Regions from separate parts of the Homo sapiens genome. Here all the other regions are linked to region 3. Evidence: promoter capture Hi-C in human tissues and cell types (Jung and others, 2019). All regions are on one chromosome and are shown on one strand. Each heading gives the region's core, a stretch centred on a gene start or on the middle of the fragment in contact. The rest is flanking DNA. Distances are from core to core; before and after follow the strand shown. Region 1 has its middle 66 kb from the start of FLNB. Region 2 overlaps SLMAP (sarcolemma associated protein). Region 3 holds the start of FLNB (filamin B).

Region 1 (3,129 bases), core at 134-2,633, 66 kb before region 3:
GGAGCTACCAACTGGCAACCTCTGGTCTAATTAAGCCTAGAATTCTAAAGCACTAGAGGTGCCTTATGCTGGGGTTGGACTTCACAGACCAATAAAATGTTCCAGAAATTTTGGAGCTAGACTCAGGGTTGCCAAACGTTTTATTTTACTGAATGTCTTAGTCCATTTTGTATTGCTTTAACAGAATACCTGGGACTGAGTAATTTATAAAGAGGTTTATTGCCAGATGCCGTGGCTCACGCCTGTAATCCCAGCACTTTGGGAGGCCAAGGCAGGTGGATCACGAGGTCAGGAGATCGAGACCATCCTGACTAACAGGGTGAAACCCGGTCTCTACTAAAAATACAAAAAAAAATTAGCCGGGTGTGGTGGCAGGCGTCTGTAGTCCCAGCTACTCGGGAGGCTGAGGCAGGAGAATGGCGTGAACCTGGGAGGCGGAGCTTGCAGAGAGCAGAGATCACACCACTGCACTCCAGCCTGGGCAACAGAGCTAGACTCCGTCTCAAAAAAAAAAAAAAAGAAAGAAAGAAAAGAGGTTTATTTAGCTCACAGTTCTGCAGGCTGGGAAGTCCAAGGAGCATGGCACCAGCATATTCTTGCTTCTGGTGAGGGCCACATGCTAGGTCACAACATGAAGGTCAAAGGGAAAGCAGACACCTGCAAAGAGAGGCAAAACCCAAGGCACGCCCTGGCTTCATAACAACCCACTCTCCCCAGAACTAATTGATTCCTGTGAGAACTAATCCAGTTTCCTCAGAGCAAGAACTCAATCACTATGGCAAGAAAGGCACCAAGCCATTCGTGAAGGATCCACCCCCGTGACCCAAGAACCTCCCACTAGGCTTCACCTCCCAACATTGTCACATTGGGGATCAGGTTTCACCATGACTTGGTGGGACAAACAAGCAGTATTCAAACCATATCACTAAGCTATAACAGTTTTTAATGTAAAAAACATACCAAACGCTACTATTAACTCACCATTTAATTAAAGAAAGGCCATTACAATACTTGAAAAATAGGATACACCAGGTTTGCAGATGCTGCTGCCACTGGGAGCCCCGTATTACCAGCCATGGTCAACCCCACCATGGTCTTCGATATTGCTGTCAACGACAAGCCCTTGGGCCGTATCTCCTTTGAGCTGTTTGCAGACAAGTTTCCAAAGACAACAGAGAACTTTCATGCTCTGAGCACTGGAGAGAAAAGATTTGGGTGTAAGGGTTCCTGCTTTCACAGAATTATTCCAGGGTTTGTATGTCAGGGTGGTGACTTCACATGCCACACTGGTGGCACATCCATCTACAGGGAGAAATTTGATTGCAAGAACTTCATCCTGAAGCATATAGGTCCTGGCATCCTGTCCATGGCAAATGCTGGACCCAACACAAGTGGTTCCCAGTTTTCATGTGCCCTGCCAAGACTGAGTGGTTGGATGGCAAGCATGTGGCCTTTGGCATGGTGAAGGCATGAATATTGTGGAGGCCATGGAGCGCTTTGGGTCCAGGAATGGCAAGACCAGCAAGAAGATCACCATTGCTAACTGTGGACAGCTCTACTAAGTTTGACTTGTGTTTTATCTTAACCACCAGACCATTTCTTCTGTAGCTCAGGGGAGCACCCCTCCACCCCATTTGCTCGCAGTATCCTAGAATCTTTGAGCTTTCACTGCAGTTCCCTTTGGGTTCCATGTTCTCCTTATTCCTTTCATGCCTAGCTGGATTGCAGAGTTAAGCTTATGATTATGAAATAAAAACTAACAGCAACAACAAAAAAGGATACACCTAATCCACAGTTTCTTATGAAACCCTGGAGGCCAGATGTATTTTGGAATTGCAATGTATTTACATTTTTGAAAGGTTAATATGGTGAATGTAACACTTCATAGTAAAATGCAAAATTTCCAGTGAACCATGTGAATATTCAACTAAGTGGAATAAGTAAAGGCTATAAATAACTATGTCAGTTCAGGTCAGAGTTTTCTGCAAAATGAGTTTTTATACCAAACCAAAAAAAAAAAAAAAAAAAAACTTGGTTTTCAGAGCCCTTTGCATATGGACTGTTATCAAGAAAGGAAAAGTCCTTTAAATGGACCAGCTTTAGGGCTATGGCCTTATTTTCCTCAGGTCACCCTAGTCCACTGGAGATTGCACTAATGGTTGGACATTTAGGAGCGTCTGATCTAAGCCAAAGCAAATCTTTATACAACTTCCCCAGTTTCATCTGACTCCCTCTTGAAACTGGTAGCAAGCCACCGCACATGGCAGCATTTCATAATGTTAAGTGTTCCTAAATCTGTTTTTTAGTGTTTCATAGCTGCATTGGTCCTAGTTCTAATTGCTGTGCTACCCAGAACTCAACTCCTGCTTTTATGAGACTCCTCTGGAATGTACCTCTCCAAGCTGGCATAAGGCCCAATGAGCTTGGCTCCCTTAGCTGTCCTTGTCGTGTGACAAGCTTGCCTTCCATGCCAAGTGCCTTCAGGGCTTTCCAGAATGGCTCCCATGTGGCCGGGCACAGTGGCTCACACCTGTAATCTTACACTTTGGGAGGCTGAGGCAGGAGGATGGCTTGAGCCCAGAAGTTCTAGATCAGCCTGGGCAACATAATGAGACCCTGTCTGTACAAAAAAATTTAAAATGAGCTGGGTGTGGTGGCACATGCCTGTAGTCCCAGCTACTTGGACGGCTGAGGCAGGAGAATCACTTGAGCCCGGGAGGTTGAGGCTGCAGTGAGCCATGGTCACACTACTGCACTCCAGCCTGGGCAACAGGAGACCCTGTCTCAAAAAAAAAGTTTGAACAACCAAGTTATATCGATGGTTTGCATTGACTCGGAATTAAATGACTTCTCCAGAAAGCAGCCTGAGAAACTGGAAGGGGATGAGACATTGGAGGCGGGCCTCGAAGGACTGGAAAGATTTGGGCTTATTGGGGATATAACAGAAAGGCATTGCAAGGGGAAGGTGGGAACATGTCAGGTGTGAATGAGTGGTTTCATGCTGGCTGGAGCTAGGCCTGGTGGAAGAGCAGCATTTGGAAAGCACATCAGGAAGAGGACATTTCAGGCAAAAGAAATGGTTGAGGCAAGAGGGAGCTCGCTGTGTGTGTGCCTGCATTGTACAAAAAC
Region 2 (3,276 bases), core at 240-2,739, 120 kb before region 3:
AATGGCACAGTCTCGGCTCACCACAACCTCCACCACCCAGGTTCAAGCAATTCTCCTGCCTCAGCCTCCTGAGTAGCTGGGATTATAGGCACCCACCACCACGCCCGGCTAAATTTGTATTTTTAGTAGAGACAAGGTTTCTCCATGTTGGTCAGTCTGGTCTCGAACTCCCGACCTCAGGTGATGCCCGCCTTGGCCTCCCAAAGTGCTGAGATTACAGGCGTGAGCCACTGCACCCAGCCAGCTTGTTTGTTGTTGTTGTTGTTTTGTTTTGTTTTGTTGTTGTTGTTTTTGTGTTTTTTTTTTTTTTGAGACAGAGTCTTGTTCTGTCGCCCAGGCTAGAGTGCAGTGGTGCGATCTCGGCTCACCACAACCTCCACCACCCGGGTTCAAGCGATTCTCCTGCGTCAGCCTACCGAGTAGCTGGGATTACAGGCACCCACCACCACGACTGGCTAAATTTGTGTTTTTAGTAGAGACAGGGTTTCTCCACGTTGGTCAGGCTGGTCTCAAACTCCCGACCTCAGGTGATCCGCCCGCCTGGGCCTCCCAAAGTGCTGGGATTACAGGCATGAGCTACCGCGCCCGGCCATCTTGTTTTTGTTGTTGTTGTTATTGTTGTTTTGCTTTTCGGTTTTTGGTTCTTTTTTTTTTTTTTTTTTTTTTTTTTTTTTGAGACAGAGTCTTGCTCTGTCGCCCAGGCTGGAGTGCAGTGGTGCGATCTTGGCTCACTGTAAACTCTGCCTCCCAGATTCAAGCGATTCTTCTGCCTCAGCCTCCTGAGTAGCTGGGATTACAGGCGTGCATCACCATGCCCAGCTAATTTTTGTATTTTTAGTAGAGACGGGGTTTCACCATGTTGGTCAGGCTGGTCTCGAACTCCTGACCTCGTGATCCACCCACCTTGGCCTCCCAAAGTGCTGGAATTACAGGCATGAGCCAATGCGCCCAAGAAGCAGAAACTTTTTTAAAGATATAATTTTTTTTTTTTTTTGAGATGGAGTCTCGCTCTGTTGCCCAGGCTGGAGTGCAGTGGCATGATCTCAGCTCACTGCAACCTCTGCCACCCAGGTTGAAGCAATTCTCCTGCCTCAGCCTCCTGAGTAGCTGGGATTACAGGTGCCCGCCACCTGGCTAATTTTTGTATTTTTAGTAGAACCGGGTTTTCACCATGTTGGCCAGGCTGGTCTCGAACTCCTGACCTCAGGTTATCTACCCACTTTGGCCTCCCAATGTGCTGGGATTACAGGCATGAGCCACTGCACCCAGCTTAAAAGTATAATTTTTGAAGTTTTATGGATGAAGCAAGATAAAGATGGTATTTTTTAAAGGAGCAAAATGCAAATAGAATTTTTGAAAGCTAAAAATATGATACCAGATTTTTAAAAACTGTAGGAAGATTGAGGAGAAGGTAGAGGAAATGTCCCAGAAAATATAAGAAAAAGGCAAGAGGTTTTTTTTTTTTTCAAGAGGGAAAATTAAAGAAAATTTGAGGTTTAATCCTAGAGATCTAATATATTAATAATGAATTCCAGAGGGGGAGAATAAGGGGGAGAGAGAGAATGGAATAATTTACCAATTAAGTAGAATACAAGATAATTCCCCAGAAGTGACAGATACGAGCTTATAAACTGAAAAAAAAAATGCACCGAGTACTTAGCACAATATATTTTAAATGACCACACACTAAGCCAGACACAGAATGTCATGTGTTATATTGTTTTATTTATATGAAATATCTAGAACGGGTAAATCCATAGAGATAGCAAGCAGATGTGGGACTGCCAGGGACCGGTGAGGTGGAGGTGGGGAATAAATGCTTAATGGGTATAGGGTTTTTGTTGGGTAATGAAAATGTTTTGGAACTAGGCACAACATAGTGAATATACTAAATTCTACAGCATTGTTCATATAGTTGTTTTATGTTATGTGAATTTCACCTCATTTAAGGAAAAAAAAGAGAAAAAAGAGACTACACACTGAGGAATATGAAATTTAAGAGCACCAGGAATAAAGAGAAGATTCCGAAACCTTCTAGAGAGAAACAAAGGATATCATATAGTCATAATAAGCTAAATTTATAATATAGTAATAAATAAGCCATGAGATTTTTTTTTTTTTTTTTGAGTTTCACTCTTGTTGCCCAGGCTGAAGTGCAATGGTGTCATCTCAGCTCACCTCAATCTCCGCTTCCTGGGTTCAAACGGTTCTCCTGCCTCAGCCTCCTGAGTAGCTGGGATTACAGACATGCGCCACCACATCCAGCTAATTTTGGGGTTTCTCCATGTTGGTCAGGCTGGTCTCGAACTCCTGACCTCAGGTGATCCGCCAACCTCGGCCTCCCAAAGTGCTGGCATTACAGGCATGAGCCACCATGCCCAGCCAAGCCATGAAATCTTAATGGCTCAACTAAACAAACATTTATTTCTCATTCACACTACATGTCCATGGTGAGGAAGACCACTCTGCTCCATATTGTCACTCAGAGATCTAGACAGATGGAGTCTTTACTATCTTATGATGTTGCTGTCTCAACACACAGCTTCTAGAGTTCCTGTGGTGGGATAAGGTGTAAAAAACTTAAACTTTCTCTTAAATGCTTTGGCCCTGGCTAGCATCAGTCCTATGAATCTTCCTCAGTGCTAGGGAGTTGGGATGTGCAGTCCTCCCTGATGCCCAAACAGAACAGGCAAACCAGATATTACTGAGTGCAAGAAATCCCTACTATGTGTACTGAGGAACAGGATTCAAGCTGTATTAGACTCACCTTCTGGTTGGAAGCTAGAAGACAGTGGAATAATGCTTTCAAAATTCTGATGCAAAAGTATTTCCTGTAGATTTGTGTATCTAGTCAAAGCATCAATCACATGTGAAGGTAGAATGCTAACATTTTCAGAGAAGCAAAATCACAAAGTATTTACCTTCTGTCCACCCCTTTTCAGGAAATTATAAGAGGATATGTTATAAGAAAACAGAAAGAGGAAGGTGGGGATATATGATGTGATAAATTACTTGGTGTGTTTGACAATATTGAAAGTTGTATGGTTCTGTGAGAACTTGGGCTATGTTTGAGATATATAAAAATTAATAAAACAAAAAAATGAAGCATTATAAATTCTGAGTATACCGAAGGCCATACAAGAAAGGAAATATAATTATAGCATACTATATGACTCATTATATAAAATAATTTTTCAATATAAATACTGATTATAGGCCAGGCGCAGTGGCTCATGCCTGTAATCCTAGCACTTTGGGAGGCTGAGGCGGGTGGAG
Region 3 (3,128 bases), core at 173-2,672:
TGGATCGCTTGAGGTCAGGAGTTCAAGACCAGCCTGGCCAACATGGTGAAAGCCCGTCTCTATTAAAAATACAAAAATTAGCGGAGCGTGGTGGCGGGTGCCTGTAATCCCAGCCACTCAGGAGGTTGAGGCAAGAGAATTGCTTGAACCCAGGAGGAGGAGGTTGCAGTGAGCCGAGATTGCACCACTGGACTCTAGCCTGGGCAACGGAGTAAGACTCCATCGCAGGAAAAAAAAAAAAAAGGAAGATGTGCCTATGGAGAGAGGACTGTCTGAGGTCTGAGAGACTCCACCTGACATTGCAGGCTTGCTTTTCTGTTTTTTTTTTTTTTTTTTTTTTTTTTGAGACGGAGTTTTGCTCTGTCGCCCAGGCTGGAGTGCAATGGCACCATCTCAGCTCACTGTAACCTCTGCCTCCCAGGTTCAAGCGATTCTCCTATCTCAGCCTTCCCAGTAGCTGGGATTACAGGTACGCGCCACCACACCTGGCTAATTTTTGTATTTTAAGTAGAGATGGGGTTTTACCATGTTGGCCAGGCTGGTCTCGAACTCCTGACCTCAGGTGATCCACCCACCTTGGCCTCCCAAAGTGCTGGGATTACAGGTGTGAGCCATTGTGCCCAGCCCATTGCAGGCTTTCACAGAGAAAAGGGGCAGGAGTCAGGCGCGCAGGCAGCTTCTGGAAGTTAGAAAACACAAGGAAACAGATTCTTCCCTACAGCCTCCAGAAGGGAATGCATCCTGCCAACACTTTGTTTTTAGCTCAGCAAGACCTGTGTGGGCCATCGAACCTACAGAACTGAAGGATAATACATTTGTGGGTGTGTGTTTTCAAAGACACTAAGTTTTGGTAACTTGTTACAGCAGTAACTGGAAACTAAGACATGCAACAAGCCTTATTGTTCATTTTTACCACCACTACTGGGCTGTTGGTTATGGTGGAATTACACTTTTCTCTTCCATTAGGCTGTGTGAACTCCTTGAGGTTGTGCAATACGTTTGTCTGATTTACTACTGGTTAGCAGGCTCTGAGAAGAATGGCTGGTACACAGGCGGAGCTCAATAAAAGCCCTTACTGAATTTTATTCAATCTATATGTGGATGAAGACCTCCGCCCCGCGCGCCCCTCCCGCAAGTCCCACTGAGGCCCGACCCATTCTGTCCGGCTCCCAGCCCCCGCGGGTCCCCCCACCCCGGGGCTGACCGGGTGATTCAGGCAGCCCTACATCCTGCTGGGGTGGTGGGCTTCGAGCGCGGGTCCCAGGACGCAGTGGGGCGCAGTGCCTGCGGCAGGCGGCAGGAGGCGAGCGTGGCCCAGGAACTCCCGCGGGAGGGTCGGGACGGGGCGGGGCTTGGGGGCGGGGCGGCTCAGCGCGCAGGCGCGGGGCCAGGCGCCTCGCGCGGCCAGGGGCGGGCGGCCGCAGAGCAGCACCGGCCGTGGCTCCGGTAGCAGCAAGTTCGAACCCCGCTCCCGCTCCGCTTCGGTTCTCGCTCCTTCGGCCCTTGGGCCTCCAAACACCAGTCCCCGGCAGCTCGTTGCGCATTGCGCTCTCCCCGCCACCAGGATGCCGGTAACCGAGAAGGATCTAGCTGAGGACGCGCCTTGGAAGAAGATCCAGCAGAACACGTTCACACGCTGGTGCAACGAGCACCTCAAGTGCGTGAACAAACGCATCGGCAACCTGCAGACCGACCTGAGCGACGGGCTGCGGCTCATCGCGCTGCTCGAGGTGCTCAGCCAGAAGCGCATGTACCGCAAGTACCATCAGCGGCCCACCTTTCGCCAGATGCAGCTCGAGAATGTGTCCGTGGCGCTCGAGTTCCTGGACCGTGAGAGCATCAAGCTCGTGTCCATCGGTGAGTTCTCTGGCCGGGCCCAGGCGCCCACTGTGGTGCCGACCCGCCCCCGCGCGTGCACCCCTGCGGAGGGCGAGGATTTCCCGCAGCGCGCCCCCACCTCGGAGATAAGGGGGAGTCGTCCCCAGGGGTGGGTTATAGGGGGCCTAGACCCCCTCCCCGGTGTCTTCCCCTGGGATGGGACCTGTTGTGATCGCTCCCCGCCATCCGCCCCAGCAGTGCACCTTTGGCTGGCTAAGGGTTGAGGGTTTGGGCTGGGGTCACAGGAGGAGAGGTGGAGTTGTTGCATTTCTCTACACCTGGGGCGCCCCTATGGGAGCTAGGGGACTAGAAACCCTCGTTCGCTGTCCCCGGGGGCGGGCCCTAGGGTCAGATGCTCCGCGGAGTGCTCTCCCTGCTGCGCCCAGGTTGGTGCTCTCAGAGGCAGCTGAATGGGCGTTGGCTCGGAGGCCGGGCCGTGAGACCTGAGGAGGAACCGTTCTCTGCGCCTGGGGCCTCCCTGCCCAGGTGGAGACAGAGACCTGGTACCTTCCCCTGCCGTCGCTGGAATGGGTGTGGGCCCCGAGGTTGCAAGGGTAGGCGCGGGTGTGTGTCCTCGCTCTCTCTGCTCCCAGCTCAGCTCTGGCCGCGCGCCGCAGGTTGAACCCACTCCTTGCTGCCGAAGTTATAATTTAGAGATGGTGGTGGTAACAGTAATTGCTGTCTTGTAGGGAGCCCAACTAGCGTCCACTGTGTACCGTCAGCCTTCTAAGTTATCTCCGTCCCTACGCATCCTGCCATCTGGGGTGAGGCTAGACCCATTTTACAGATAAGGGGGTCCGGAGGGTTAATTGACCTGTCCAAGGTCAGCAAGTAGGGCCCAGCTGAGAACTGAAGGAAGTGGGCAACAGTTAGAAGGAGGCTTTGTTTTCCTCTCCTCTCCCAAACCTACACCAGGGTCTTCCTGAAAGGAGGGAGGGAATTGGTGTCTCTTGCTGGACTGGGCCTTCTGGTCTGGGGAGGAAGAATAAGGATGAAGTCTCCCTTGTGGTCTGAGATAGTTGGAGGCTTCCCAGAGGGCCACAAGGCTACTGATAGTGTGGGCTGTGATGGTAGGGGCTGTGATGTGTGTGTGCATGTGGGCGTTTGTGCAGAGAACGTGTGTACACACATAGCATGTGTGTATAGCATGTGCATATGCAAAGAGTTTGCATGTACACGGAATGTATGCAGAGAATGTGTATCCACCTACACGTGTGTATGGGTGTGTGTATGTGTGTGTGTGTATGTGG

What was found. Contacts are between HindIII fragments. The study calls those that stand out against the background at their distance.
Region 1: a fragment that was not itself captured here is called in contact with the fragment with the promoter of FLNB in region 3 in 3 of the 25 tissues and cell types used here (IMR-90 fibroblasts, hippocampus and pancreas).
Region 2: a fragment that was not itself captured here is called in contact with the fragment with the promoter of FLNB in region 3 in 2 of the 25 tissues and cell types used here (bladder and mesenchymal stem cells).

Annotation. Positions count from the first base shown.
Region 1 is chr3:57,940,743-57,943,871 of GRCh38, forward strand. It overlaps the pseudogene PPIAP16. Among named protein-coding and RNA genes, the nearest start is that of FLNB, 66 kb to the right of the region's middle. The HindIII fragment of the contact is 3,365 bases long and covers 1-3,066 here.
Region 2 is chr3:57,885,128-57,888,403 of GRCh38, forward strand. The region is part of intron 14 of SLMAP (sarcolemma associated protein); the gene reads left to right. Among named protein-coding and RNA genes, the nearest start is that of FLNB, 120 kb to the right of the region's middle. The HindIII fragment of the contact is 6,777 bases long and covers 1-3,276 here.
Region 3 is chr3:58,007,000-58,010,127 of GRCh38, forward strand. It overlaps FLNB (filamin B), which reads left to right and starts at 1,423. Exons shown (of 46, transcript NM_001457.4): 1 at 1,423-1,857. The coding sequence starts at 1,566. The HindIII fragment of the contact is 12,217 bases long and covers 1-3,128 here.